Regions from separate parts of the Homo sapiens genome. Here region 2 is linked to region 1. Evidence: promoter capture Hi-C in 16 types of primary human blood cells and fetal thymus (Javierre and others, 2016). All regions are on one chromosome and are shown on one strand. Each heading gives the region's core, a stretch centred on a gene start or on the middle of the fragment in contact. The rest is flanking DNA. Distances are from core to core; before and after follow the strand shown.

Evidence for each region. The method cuts DNA at HindIII sites, captures the fragments that hold promoters and counts their contacts. A CHiCAGO score of 5 or more calls a contact.
Region 2: a contact is called between a fragment that was not itself captured here and the fragment with the promoter of ZIM3 in region 1, in 1 of 17 cell types (non-activated CD4 T cells). The highest score is 6.5, in non-activated CD4 T cells.

The regions. Positions count from the first base shown.
Region 1 is chr19:57,139,548-57,146,451 of GRCh38, forward strand. It overlaps ZIM3 (zinc finger imprinted 3), which reads right to left and starts at 5,655. Exons shown (of 5, transcript NM_052882.1): 1 at 5,312-5,655; 2 at 3,082-3,138. The coding sequence starts at 3,096. The HindIII fragment of the contact is 22,671 bases long and covers 5,616-6,904 here.
Region 2 is chr19:58,045,625-58,052,528 of GRCh38, forward strand. It overlaps ZSCAN1 (zinc finger and SCAN domain containing 1), which reads left to right. Exons shown (of 6, transcript NM_182572.4): 5 at 6,866-6,904. It also overlaps the pseudogene LETM1P2 and the pseudogene HNRNPDLP4. Among named protein-coding and RNA genes, the nearest start is that of ZNF135, 10 kb to the right of the region's middle. The HindIII fragment of the contact is 1,070 bases long and covers 2,465-3,534 here.

The DNA of each region.
Region 1 (6,904 bases), core at 4,405-6,904:
AAACCCCATCTCTACTAAAAATACAAAAATTAGCCAGGTGTCGTGGTGCGCGCCTGTAATCCCAGCTACTCAGGAGGCTGAGGCAGGAGAATCGCTTGAACCCTGGGAGGTGGAGGTTGCAGTGAGCTGAGATCACACCACTGCACTCCAGCCTGGGTGACAGTGAGACTCCATCTCAAATAAATAAATACATAAATAAGTAGAATAAGCCAATAGCCCCCTAATTCTTCCAGCTACATCTAAACTGACTGTAATCTATTTTCCACAGTCGACATTCAGACTGGATGGTGCGCTCCCCTAATTTATCAGCTTTCCTTGCATTTGGGAGAAACAGGTGACACCTGTTACAGGGGCCAGCGTCTGGCATGTCTACCACACTCCCACTCACACAGGGTCACACAGCACTCCCCTGGGTCTCTCCTGCAGCCATACTGGACTTACGGCAGCATTTTGCCCCTGCCACTCAACACTCACAGTGTTGGAAGTCACACTTGTAAAGCGAATTCCTTTGTCAGAAACTGAAAATCTCACCTCTAAGAGCCAGCACCTAGTGTCCTCTTGGACAGATAAATTTTTTAGTTGTGTTTGTGCTCTAGCTCGCTTTTTTAAAATTTTGTTTATTTATTAATTTTTTTTGGCGGGGAAGGGGACAGAGGCTCACTCTGGTAGCCCAGGCTGGAGTGCAGTGGCACAATCTCGGCTCACTGCAACCTCCACCTCCTGGGTTCAAGCGATTCTCCTGCCTCAGCCTCCTGAGCAGCTGGGATTACAGGCGCGCACCACGACACCTGGCTAATTTTTGTACTTTTAGTAGAGACGGGTTTCACCATGTTGGCCAGGTTGGTCTCAAACTCCTGACCTCAAGTGATCTGCCCGCATCGGCCTCCCGAAGAGCTGGGATTAAAGGGATGAGCCACCGCACCCGGCCTTTTTTTTTAAATTTTTGACACAGGTTCTTGCTCTGCCACCCAGGCTGGAGTACAGTGGCATGATCATGGCTCACTGCAGCCTCAACCTCCCAGGATCAAGCAATCCTCCTACCTCAGCCTCCAGAATAGCTGGGACTACAGGCATGCACCACCATGCTAAGCTCATTTTTTATTATTTGTAGACAGGGTCTCACTATATTGTCCAGGCTGGTCTTGAACTCCTGGCCTCAAGTGGTCTTCCTGCCTTCGCCTCCCAAAGTGCTGGGATTACAGGTGTGAGCCACCACACCCAGCCTTAGTATGCCTTTCCTGTCAACAGGAAATTGGTCAACAGGCTTAATTTTAACAATTGCAAAGAAACTACTATCTGCCTAACTGCATACAACTTATCCTTGGTCTTTCAGCTATCCATAATTTACTTTGATTCCGACTGGTACTAGTTAATGATTTTTCAGTTTATTGTGTGGATTTACAGAATTTGTTTCAAATACACACCGAACAAAGTTGGGAGAGGACACACATTCAAGACACCAATCATTTAAAAAATAGGTTGGGGTGAAACACACATGACACTGTTACATCTCAGGGCTTAGCAGTGGACCAGGTTTGTAAGAGCAATGGTCAAAAGATGCTTGAGGCTGGGCGTGGTGGCTCACCCTTGTAATCCCAGAACTTTGGGAGGCTGAGGCGGGTGGATCACCTGAGGTCAGGAGTTCGAGACCAGCCCGACCAATATGGTAAAACCCCATCTCTACTAAAAATACAAAAATTAGCCGGGCGTGGGCGTGGTGGCGTGCGCCTGTAATCCCAGCTGCTCAGGAGGTTGAGGCAGGAGAATCGCTTGAACCTGGGAGGTGGAGGTTGCAGTGAGCCAAGATCAAGCCATTGCACTCCAGCCTGGGTGGCAGAGGGAGACTGTCTCAAAAAAAAAAAAAAAAAAAAAAACAACAAAACAAAGATGCTTGAGCTGAAACCAGCCCAGTAATCCCATAGACAGTTGTGGGTTTTTTGTTTTTTGTTTTTGTTTTTGTTTTTGTTTTTTGGATAAACATAGAAATTGACCCTTCCGCTGTTAAAGCTTGAAACCTGTATTTGTTTTGTCTGAGTTCCTTCCTCAGGAAAAGACCTTCAGATCTCTCAAAGGCAGGCAGATCACCTGAGGTCAAGATTTCGAGGCCAGCCTGGCCAACATGGTGAAGCCCCGTCTCTACCAAAAAATACAAAAATTAGCCAGGAGTGGTGGTGCGCACACCTGTAATCCCAGCAACTCAGGAGGCTGAGGAAGGAGAATCGCTTGAACCTGGGAGGCAGAGGTTGCAGTGAGCTGAGATTGCACCACTATACTCCAGCCTGGGTGACACAGCGAGACTCCCTCAAAAAAAAAAAATCAACTGAAACTCACCACAACTGAAACTCACCACAACAGATGTCTCCTTGCCCCCTCCCTAGTCTTGCTTTCTTACACATTGTTATATTTCTTCCATGCTGTATAAACCCCTAGTTTTAGTGAGTTAGGGAGATGGATTTGAGGCTGAGCTCCCATTTCTTCACCTACGGCAGCTGATTAAAGCTTCTTCCTTGGCAATACCCATTGTCTCAGTCATTGGCTTTCTGTGCAGCCAGTAGCAGGACCTAGACCAAACTCCTGGTGTTTCCGTAACCAAGCTTTTTTTTTTTTTTTTTTTGAGACAGGGTCATGCTCTGTCACCCAGGCTGGAGTGCAGTGGCACAATCATGGCTCACTGCAGCCTCAACCTCCCAGGTTCAAGCGATTCTCCCACCTCCGCCTCCAGAGTAGCTGAGACTACAGGTGTACGCCACCACCACCACACCCAGCTAATTTTTTGTAGAGACGGGATCTCGCCATGTTGCCCAGGCTGGTTTCAAACTCCTGAACTCAAGCGATCCGCCTGCCTTGGCCTCCTAGATTGCTGAATTACAGGTGTGAGCCACCATGCCCAGCCTTGAGCTTTACTTGAAATGTTTCAGCTTTAATAGGAAAGCAGAAAGTAGAGTGTGTGTTACCTTTTAATAGAAGTATGGAAGGAAGGAGGAAAATATGCCAAAAGGTTAGCACAGTTAATTCTGAGCAAGAGGAACGTGGGTCATACGTTTATTCATTATGAGATTTAGATTTTTTTGAAAAGCTCACCTGGGAATTGTTCATTTCCTGTTCTTCACCAGTCAGTAAAGTCTTGGGAAGGCAGATCTGAGGGAAAATGGAAAAGAACCATGAAATAGCAGAATTCGCTTTGGAAGTTGGGGATCATCCAGCATAGAATGCTCCACACCCTGGATAAAAGCTCTCCCTAACCCACTCAGAAAAGCCCTGACTTGTACCTCAGTGATCCCCTTCTGAAGGTCTTTTTTTTTTTTGTTTTGGTTTTTTTGTGTTTGTTTATTTATTGAGACTGGGTCTCAAAGAAGAAAGTGCAAGCCAGGCACGGTGGCTCACGCCTGTAATCCCAGCACTTTGGGAGGCTGAAGCAGGCAGATCACCAGAGGTCAGGAGTTCGAGACCAGCCTGTCCAACATGGTGAAACCCCGTCTCTACTAAAAATACAAAATTGGCTGGGCGCGGTGACTCATGCCTGTAATGCCAGCACTTTGGGAGGCCGAGGCAGGCGGATCACGAGGTCAGGAGATCAAGACCATCCTGGCCAACACGGTGAAACCCTGTCTCTACTAAAAATACAAAAACAAAATTAGCCAGGCGTGGTGGCGGGCGCCTGTAGTCCCAGCTACTCGGGAGGCTGAGGCAGGAGAATGGCGGGAACCCGGGAGGCGGAGCTTGCAGTGAGCCGAGATCGCGCCACCGCACTCCAGCCTGGGCGACAGAGCGAGACTCCGTCCCAAAAAAAAAAAAAAAGAGAGAGAGAGAAAGCTAAACAGCAGTTCAACAGCACCTTTAAAACAAGCCTGTGCAAAGACAATGAGGCAAGCATCAGATCAGCTAGAGCACAGTAAGGAAGGCCGAGAGCAGAAACCATGAATCCTGAAGCAGCTGTGGTCGTGACGAATAACGCCGCAGTGAACATGGGATGCAGATAGCCCTTCAGCTTTGCCATAAGCGGGACAGCTGGATCATTGGTAATTCTTTGCCAAAAGCGTAGATTTTGGCCACGCGTGGCAGCTCACACCTATAATCCCAGCACTTTGGAAAGCCAAGGTGGGAGGATCAGTTGAGCCCAGGAGTTACTTTTTTTTTTTTTTTTTTAAGACCAAGTCTTGCTCTGTCGCCCAGGCTGGAGTGCAGTGGCACAGTCTCGGCTCACTGCAACCTCTGCCTCCCGGGTTCAAGGGATTCCCCTGCCTCAGCCTCCCGTGTAGCTGGGATTACAGGCATGCACCACCATGCCCAGCTAATTTTTGCATTTTTAGTAGAGACAAGGTTTTACCATGTTGTTCAGGCTGGTCTCGAGCTGCTGATCTCAAGTGATCCGCCGGCCTCAGCCTCCCAAAGTGCTGGGATTATAGGCGTGAACCACCACATCCAGCCAAGCCCAGGAGTTTGAGACCAGCCTGTGCAACATAGTGAAACCTCTGTCTCAATGTTTAAGTAATAAAGTTTTTATTTTTTATTTTATTTTATTGAGGCAGGGTCTCATTCTGTCACCCAGGCTGGAGTGCAGTGATGTGATCCCGGCTCACAGCAGTTTAAAAATCCCTGGCTCAAGCAATCCTCCTACCTTGGCCTCCTGAATAGTTAAGACTATGGGTGCATGCTACCACATCAGCTAACTTTTTATTTTTTGTAAAGAAGGGATCTTGCTATGTCACCTAAACTGGTCTCAAACTCCTAGGCTCAAGCAATCCTCCTCCCTCAGCCTCCCCAAATCCTGGGATTACATGCATGAGCCACCACACCAGCCAGGAATAAAGTTTTAAATAAGTAAATATGTTTTTAAAAAGAATAAACTTGCCGGGCACAACTTTAATGTTTATTAAAGTTTGAGGAGTCCAATTCTAGCACAAAAAATATATATAATTTTAAAAAACAGTAAATTGTAAATGCTTTCACCACAAAAATAGATTAATTAGCTTGATTTAATCATCCCCCCAATGTAAACATGTATCAAAACATCACATTGTACCCCATAAATAAACACAATTATTATTTGTCAATAAAAAGTTTTTAGAAGTAGCTGTGGGCCAGCAGTAATGCTAAGGACTGGAGGGCCACGAAAATAATTTTGAGTGTCCTGGGAGCATCACTTTTCAATATGACAACTAAAAAAAAAATCTAAACTACCAATGTAAAATATTTAGCTTATTCCAGCAAATAGGAGAGGTAGAAAAATGAAACTAAGTAAAAATGCAAAACAAACAAACAAACAAAACCCAGACATTTGGTTTTCAGGGAGAAAAAAAAATCAGCTTACCTCCAGTGGAATCTGGCATAAATTAGCAAGTTGATTGATTTCTGATGCCTGTGGTCTTTTCTTCTGAAAGGGACTGAAAATGAAAAGGCGTGTATACTGAAAAGCTACACTAATGACTAAAACTTAATCGGCCCTCTACCCGCTGTATTCCGCATCATAATCCAGTCAAGAAACAACCCAAAACACTCACTTCCTATCAAAAGCCCCACCTGATCCTATCAGGCCACATCAAAATTTCAATTCCCAATTCTTTCCTCGACTTCTCCAAAACTGAATGAACTCTCATAAAAATTGTGATTGTGAAAGCTTAATTTTCAAATCTGCCCAATCAGTTTCCAATGGAATTTTTTTTAAGTTCATGCAAGTAAAAATTTTTTACCTTAACTTTGAAATAGAAAGCATGGAAAACATTATCCAAATGTCAGAGGATGAAAATAAATTAAAACAACAAAAATTGGCTGGGCACGGTGGCTCATGCCTGTAATCCCAGCACTTTGGGAGGACAGGAGTTCAAGACCAGCCTGGCCAACATGGGGAAACCCCGTCTCTACTAAAAATACAAAAATTAGCTGGTCATGGTGGCACGTGCCTGTAATCCCAGCTACTTGGGAGGCTGAGGCAGGAGAATCGCTTGAACCCGGGAGACGGAGGCTTCAGTGAGCCAAGATCGTGCCACTGCACTCCAGCCTGGGCAATGAGCGAGACTCCATCTCACGTCTCAAAAAAAAAAAAAGAAAGGAAAAGAAAAAAGAAATAGGGCCAGCGGAGGTGGAACAATGCCTTAAAGTGCTCTCCGCCCGACAGAAAGAATTCAGGCTCCAACCTCCAACTGGCAAAATCTCTTCAGCTGTACTAATACTCTCAAAATGAGATCAACATGCCAATCCATCCCCACCCTAGTCTGGGTGTTGAATTTAAACACAGGCTACATGCCCTTGCCTGCAGACATGGAGACCTTCCAAAATTGAGCGTCCAACTGAATTCCAAGAGATTAAACCAGACTTCATGGGACAGGATGCACCAGACTAGACCTCCTCCCAGGAGAAGAGGTATCCAAAGATCGTATTAGCAAATGACCCTTGGCGGTGTGCGGTGGCTCAAGCCTGTAATCCCAACACTTTGGGAGACTGAGGCAGACAGATCACCTGAGGTCAGGAGTTCAAGACCAGCCTGGTCAACATGGTGAAATCCTGTCTCTACTAAAAATACAAAAATTAGCTGGGCATGGTGGTACACACCTGTAGTCCCAGCTACTCAGCTACTCAAGAGGCTGAGGCAGAATTGCTTGAACCCAAAACACAGAGGTTGCTGTGAGCTGAGATCATGCCACTGCACTCCAGCCTGGGCGACAGAGGGAGACTCCATCTCAAAAAAAAAAAAAAGAAAAAAAAAGCAAAATGACCCAGCCAGCCTGAATCCCAGCCGCCGTGTCGGACTACTATAGTCCCAGATACTTGGAAGGCTGAGGTGGGAGGATCAATTGAGCCCAAGAGGTCAAGGCTGCAGTGAGCAAGGATCTTGCCACTGCATTCCAGCCTGAGAGACAGAGCAAGCCTGCAGGTGAACGGAAAGGGGTGGAGTGATTTTATATAT
Region 2 (6,904 bases), core at 1,750-4,249, 900 kb after region 1:
TCCATAAAGGCAGAGGACAAGCTGTTTGCTGAGGAAGGGGTGGACAGCCTGAACGTCAAGGAGCTGCAGGCGGCATGTCGGGCACGAGGCATGCGGGCCCTGGGCGTCAGGGAAAACCACCTGAGGGGCCAGCTGAAGCAGTGGCTGGACCTGCACCTGCATCAGGAGATCCCCACATCGCTGCTCATCCTGTCCCGGACCATGTAGCTCCCGGACACCCTCTTGCCAGCCGACCAGCTCAAGTCCACACTGCAGACTCTCCCAGAGATTGTGGCAAAGGAAGCACAGGTGAAAGTGGCCGAGGTGGAGGGCAAGCAGGTGGACAAGGCCAAGCTAGAGGCCACACTGCAGGAGAAGGCGACCATGCAGTAGGAGCACCGCGAGAAGGAGCTGCAGAAGCATTCGGAGGTGGCGAAGGATGTTGAACCCGAATGTGTGGAAGGCGCTCCCCAAAGGCCAGGGGCCCAGCCCCAGCCAGAAGTGCCTGACACTGTCCTGCAGTCAGAGACCATGAAGGACACTGCCCCCGTGCTAGAGGGCTTGAAGGAGGAAGAGATGACTAAGGAGGAGATCAGCATCCTCAGCAATGCCTGCTCTAAGCTGCAGGAACAGAAGAAGTCACTCACCAGGAAGAAGGAGGAGCTGGAGCTGCTGAAGGAGGACATGCAGGACTACAGCGAGGACTTGCAGGAGCTCAAGAAGGAACTTTCAAAGACTGGTGAAGAAAAATACATGGAAGGATCTAAAGCCAGCAAGAGATTGACAAAAAGGGTGCAGCAGATAATCGGGCAGATCAACGGCTTGATCTCGCAGCTGGAGATGGACCAGTGGGCCAGCAAGCTGGCCCCGGCCAAGGGCGTGCCCATGGGGGAGAACGTCATCAGTGTTGCCGAGCTCATCAACGCCATGAAGCAAGTCAAGCACATTCCCAAAAGCAAGCTCACCAGCCTGGCCGCAGCACTGAATGAAAATAAGGATGGCAAGGTCAACGTCGACCACCTCATCAAGGTGATTGAGCTGGTGGACAAAGAAGATGTTCACGTCTCCACCAGTCAGGTGGCCGAGATTGTAGCAACACTGGAAAAAGAGGAGAAAGGGTGGAGAAGGAGAAGGTGGAGAAGGAGGTTGCAGAGGTGAAGAGCTAGAGCCACTGGCGTGGGCACCTGTCCTCCTGCTGCACTGCCACCCTGGTGAGGGCTGTGAGAGCGATTTGCGGTGATTCTTAGTGGCTCATCTAATACTTTGGCTGGAATAAATCAGAGACTTCCATAATCAAGTAAACTGTAATTTTCATCATTCCACGGAGCTTCAATCTGTCTGGAGTCCCAGAATCCCTCCACAGAATCCTGTCTGGATCCACACTGTGGTGTGGCTGCCACGGCCTCCTGGCTCCAGAGGCGGCTGGGCCAAGGCAGGAAGGTGCCCCCCTGTGTGTGGCCTCACGTCTCAGTGTCTGACTGTGCTGCCCTGTGCCCAGGGAGGAGAATGAGGACCACATGGACTCTGCCCACACGGAGCTGGCTGCTACGCCCACCCTCAGAGGCGTCAGGAGACACAGCCTGGCCCCCTCAGGGCTGAAGATGCCTCCATTCACCTGTGGACCTTGCTTTCTAGATTTCAGCATCAATAGACCTGTCTTCCTGCATGCTTTTAGTTGGATCTGGGTCACTGTGGAGACAGAGGTATCTGCCATCTCTGTGGCCTCTGGAGAGTGACGTCTCCCTGCTGGCAGGGCCGGTTCTCACCTGCAGTTTTCCTTGTGTATCGGAGCTCTTTCTTAACTTTCTATTTTCCCCCAATTCTTTAAGCAGTCGATTGGCACAGAGTTTTCCCACGCTGGTCGGCCTGCCCCAAGAGCCATCTCTGACCCAAGCCACGCAACTCTGACGTAGCCCTAGCCATGGGACTCCCTTGGGTGGTGCTTGGGCTGCGCGCCACGGGGGCTGCAGTGGATTTACTGTGTCAGGGATGAGCCTGGCTCGGGTTGGTGGGGCTCTGAAGCACATTTGGGGTTCTTTGTAGCTTCTAATGTGAGGTTTGAGTCCAGTGCACCCACAGCAGCATACCCTTCTCACCCCTTGTGGTGTTGCAGGCTCAGGCCCCTGGGGTCCTTTAACAAGCAGGCTGGTCACCGAGGCACGAAGACGAGGCACAGGGCATCCCCTGGGGCTTCAAGGGCAACACCCGCAGTGCTTAGGGTTTACCCTGTGCCCTCTGGGTGGGGTGGCCTCCCTGCACTCGGCAGCATGGTCGGGCTGGCGAGGGCGTGGGCAGGCAGTGTCCTGTGGCCACCTCCACCCTCCTGCCCAGCCGGCTGTGTCACACTCATATTTTTAAGGTCAGGTTGGTTCCTGGTAAAAATGTCCCTCCGGGGGCCTCCAAGCATAGGATTTGGAAGACATAGGAATGGCACAGGCAGCCAGGAAAGCAGCTGCGCTCAGACGATGCCTTCTCCATTACTTGAAGCTTCTTTTTGTTCAGCCATTAAAGAAACTTGACAAAATAGGAACAGGAGATATTTCTCAATTGTAAACCTTTGTGCAGGGACAGTTGGCTTCCAAAGCCTTTCAGATTTCAATTATTTGAGAAAGAAGTTTGTTTTAGATCCTTAATATTTATGAATTCTCAAAAAAAATCAATGTATAGACATTTTATAGCTTTAACCCTGCAAGTGTTTCAAGCTGTGTTTCTTAATTAGTATACTAACTGCCCTGGGGCATGTAGGTAAGTGTAAATGATGTGGTTTGAGCCAAGTTTTCATCTGTAATCCCACTGCTTGAGGTGGCCAAGGCCGGAGGATAAGCCAAGCCCAGGAGTTGGAGACCAGGCTGGACGATGGAGCGAGACCATGTTACTTTCTTTTTCTTTTTTCTGAGATGGAGTCTTGCTCTGTTGCCCAGGCTGGAGTGCCGTGGCATGATCTCGGCTCACTGCAACCTCCACCTCCTGGGTTCAAATGATTCTCCTGCCCCACAGACAAACGCCACTATGCCTGGCTAATTTTTGTACTTTTAGTAGAGATGGGGTTTCATTATGTTGGCCAGGCTGGTCTCGAATTCCTGACCTCAAGTGATCTACCTGCCTTGGCCTCCCAAAGTGCCAGGATGATGGCGTGAGCCACCGAGGCCGGCCCTTTTTACCTTTTTTTGAGACGGGGTCTCACTCTGTCACCCAGACTGGAGTGCAGTAGCACAGTTATAGCTCACTGCAGCCTTGACCACCGAGGCTCAAGTGATCCTCCCATCTCAGCTAGAATTACAGGCTTGAGCCACAGTGCCTGGTAATTTTCTAATTTTGTAGAGTTGGGACTTAGCTATGTTGCCTACACTGGTCTTGAACTCCTGTTCTCAAGCAATTCTCCAGCCTCAGCCTTAGCCTCCCAAAGTGGTGGGATTCTAGGTGTGAGCCACTGTGCCTGGCCTTTAAAATTTTCAATCTCCCCAAAGCCTCCAAAATATTCTTTAGTTAGTTCTTCAGAAGTAGCTGGGCTCAATCCACCCACGAAAACCTTTCGGGGGGTTCTTTCCCTTTTCAAGCTTTGGCTCTTTGCAGCAGGGGTGGGGGGTGATCCTATCAATTTGCCATCCAGCTCCTGTTCTTTCCGTTCCAAGGCCTTAAGAGCACTAGCAGCGTTTTCCAAAAGCACAGATACAAATCCCCTTGATCTTCCAGTAACTGTTTTAACTGTGCAATCTGCAACTTCCCTAAGTCAAGACACATCGTCAGATCTTTTTGCTTGTAACACTGTACCATCATCCGGCAGATCTTGGATCCCTCTGCGATTTCCTCTGTATTGGTTGTGGTACTCATTCAGGTCTTTGCTGGTGGAGAAGTTGTAGGCGGGGGGTGCTGGTGCACATTCAGGGTCAGGCAGCAGCTTATGCTACGGAGTTGGATTTCAAATGGTGGTGGAAGAGAGTCATTATAATTTTACGAGATCACTGTGGTGTGTGTGGTCCATTGTTGACTGAAACACCATTACCCCATGGGGAGGGGCTGCCTGAAGCCTGTAAGGGTAGCTGCCCGAAGCCCTTTGAGGGTAGCACTCTAAGGTCCCTGAGATCCCATGGGCGTATCTCCCTGAGGCCCTGGCGGGAATGACTGTTGGAACCTCAGTGGTAAGTGATGCCAGTGTCCTCTGTGGAACACACTGCTGGGGTCCCTGGTGGTTCCCACCGCGTAGCTGATACTCGTGGCCCCTGCTTTTCTTCTTTGTGCATAGCGATCTCCTGGCATCTCAGGTATGCATTATCTCACCGGTGAGCTTTTTCTTGTGGGCATTCTCGGGTTTTTTCACTTTACTCCACTGTGTTGCTGCAGATCTTCAATGGGTCCTTGAGCGTTCTGGGCTATTCTGGCTTGTGAATATCTGTCTGTAGTTGATTTGTGTGTGGGTAGTGGGAGGGGGAAATGAAGGTTGGTATCTCCTACTCCACCATCTTGGTGATGTCGCTCCACTCTTTCCTTTTTTTTTTTTCCAAAATAACCCAGCACCATTGCCCCAACTAAAACCATTAAGATAATTCCTGGCCGGACACGGTGGTTCATGCCTGTAATCCCAGCACTTTGGGAGGCCGAGGTGGGTGGATCACTAGAGGTCAGGAGTTCAGGACCAGGCTGGCCAGCATGGTGAAGCCTCGTCTCTACCAAAAAATACAAAAATTAGCTGGGTGTGGTGGCACGTGCCTATAGTCCCAGCTACTCGGGAGGCTGAGGCATAAGAATCGCTTGAACCCAGCGGGTGGAGGTTGCAGTAAGCCAAGATTGCGCCACTGCACTCCAGCCTGGGCGAAAGAGTGAGACCCTGTCTCTAAATAAATAAATAAAATAGAGCTATTAAGATAATTCCTCAACAACAGTAAGTTGCCAGGCATTCATATTTCCTCCTTTATTCTTGTTTCATTTTGTTTTGTTTGAGACGGCGTCTCGCTCTGTCGCCAGGCTGCAGTGCAGTGGTGCAATCTCAGCTCACTGCAACCTCCGCCTCCTGGGTTCAAACGATTCTCCTGCCTCAGCCTCCCGAGTAGCTGGGACTACAGGTGCACGCCACCACACTCAGCTAATTTTTGTATTTTTAGTAGAGATGGGGTTTCACCATGTTGGCCTAGATGGTCTCGATATCCTGACCTCTTCATCCTCCCGCTTCTGCCTCCCAAAGTGCTGGGATTACAGGCGTGAGCCACCACGCCTGGCCCCTTATTCTTGTTTTCTTTTTCTTGGTTGCTTGGTTTGCATCAGGACTCTCCCAGGGTGTGACATGCATCTCCCTCCCGCCTCCAATCTCCCCACCTGTCATCCCTGAAACAATAAACCTGGGTCCACCTCTGGAAGGATAAGAACCCAGATCTGTGGCCAGTGGCTCACCGGGGCTATGGGGATGTGTTTGCATTTGAAGGTACAGATAGGGCCCCGGGAATGTCTTGGTTTCTGTGCCTGACCCAAGTGTGTCGATAGCTCCTCTGATGCCCCCTGAGAGTCAGGGGAACTAAGCATGCCCCTCTCTCCACACATACATGCCACCCACTCTTCTCTCCACGCAGCCCCTCTGCTGCCCTTGATTAGTCACAGACGCCAAGGTGGGTGAAGTAGGGAAGAGCCTGACTGTCCACAATGGCCCCCAGTAGCCAGGTACCAGGAAGAGGCGTAAAAGGGAGTCCCGCCTTTACTCCTATAGATGGTGGCTCCTCTGGTTACGATTTCAGAATTCAACATGTTTTACAATCAAAACTAGCATTTGATAAGAAATAAAAATCAATAACCCAGCCAAACACACCATCCACATACTCCCAACGTGAGAGCAGGAAGAATCTTGTGCCTTAACTCCCTTCCTGCCATCAGCTCCCTCCCTCCCTCCCTCCCTCCTCCGTCTCTAGCCCAGCAATCCCTCTACTCCAGTTTTGCCCAGCTATTGGGAATCTTGGACAGCTTCCTTAGGCCCCTGTGCATCCAGGTAGGGTTGGGGCAGCAGAAAGCGAAGACCCACTCAAGACAGACCTTGTCAGTGCGTGCTTGACTCCTGGTCTTTTCTGATGCTTTGTTTGACTCAACATACCTCCTCCAACAACCTGATTTGCATTGATAAGTGTCACTGTGTTTTCCTTTGACACGACTCCGTTGCAGTTTGCCGAGCCCTTGATGGTACCAGGCTCTGGGCACGTAGCACCCACATCCTCACTGGAAACCCAGAGAGCTAAAGCTCCTCATCCAGGGCCACACAACAAGCAGGGCTGGAGCCTGGACACCAAGCCAAGCCCCTCTGTTTCGAATTCTTGCTCTTCAACCACAGCTCAGTCTCCTCCCAGGAAGTGGTGATCCCCGCTTTGGGCGGGACACGGTTAGGTGCATCAGAGGTCATAGGTCGCAGGTGGGATGTGAAGTCTGTGAAGTCGCCCACTTCCTCTGGGCTTGTGGGCAAGGACAGTGCAGCCTTGGGGGACGGGAGTTAGGAGCCCCAGCTTGTAACAGTGACCCGAGCTGTGGCACAGGTCCCCTGGCTCCATCTAATGCTCTGTTGTCACTGTCCTGAAATGATCAACGATCTTTGAACAAGGGGATTTGCATTTCCATTTTGTACAGGGGCCCCTCGAATTCTGTCTCAGGTCCTGTTAAGAGCTCTTTAGGAGTGGTTATTTATTTTTTGTATAAGCAGAGTCTTGCTGTGTTGCCCAGGCTGGTCCCAAACTCCTGGCCTCAAGCAATCCTCCAGCATCAGCATCCCAAAGCACGGGAACAACAGGCGCGACACCGCGCACTGCCCTGGGACAGAGCCTTTGGGGATGACGCCCGTTCCTTGGTTGTTCGGTGGTGGTGGGGAGGATGGCTCCTGAGGGGCAGCTGCCGAACAGTCCTGTGCTTGCCATTCTAGGCGTCTGAGCTGATTCTGGATGCAGTGGCAGCAGCCCCA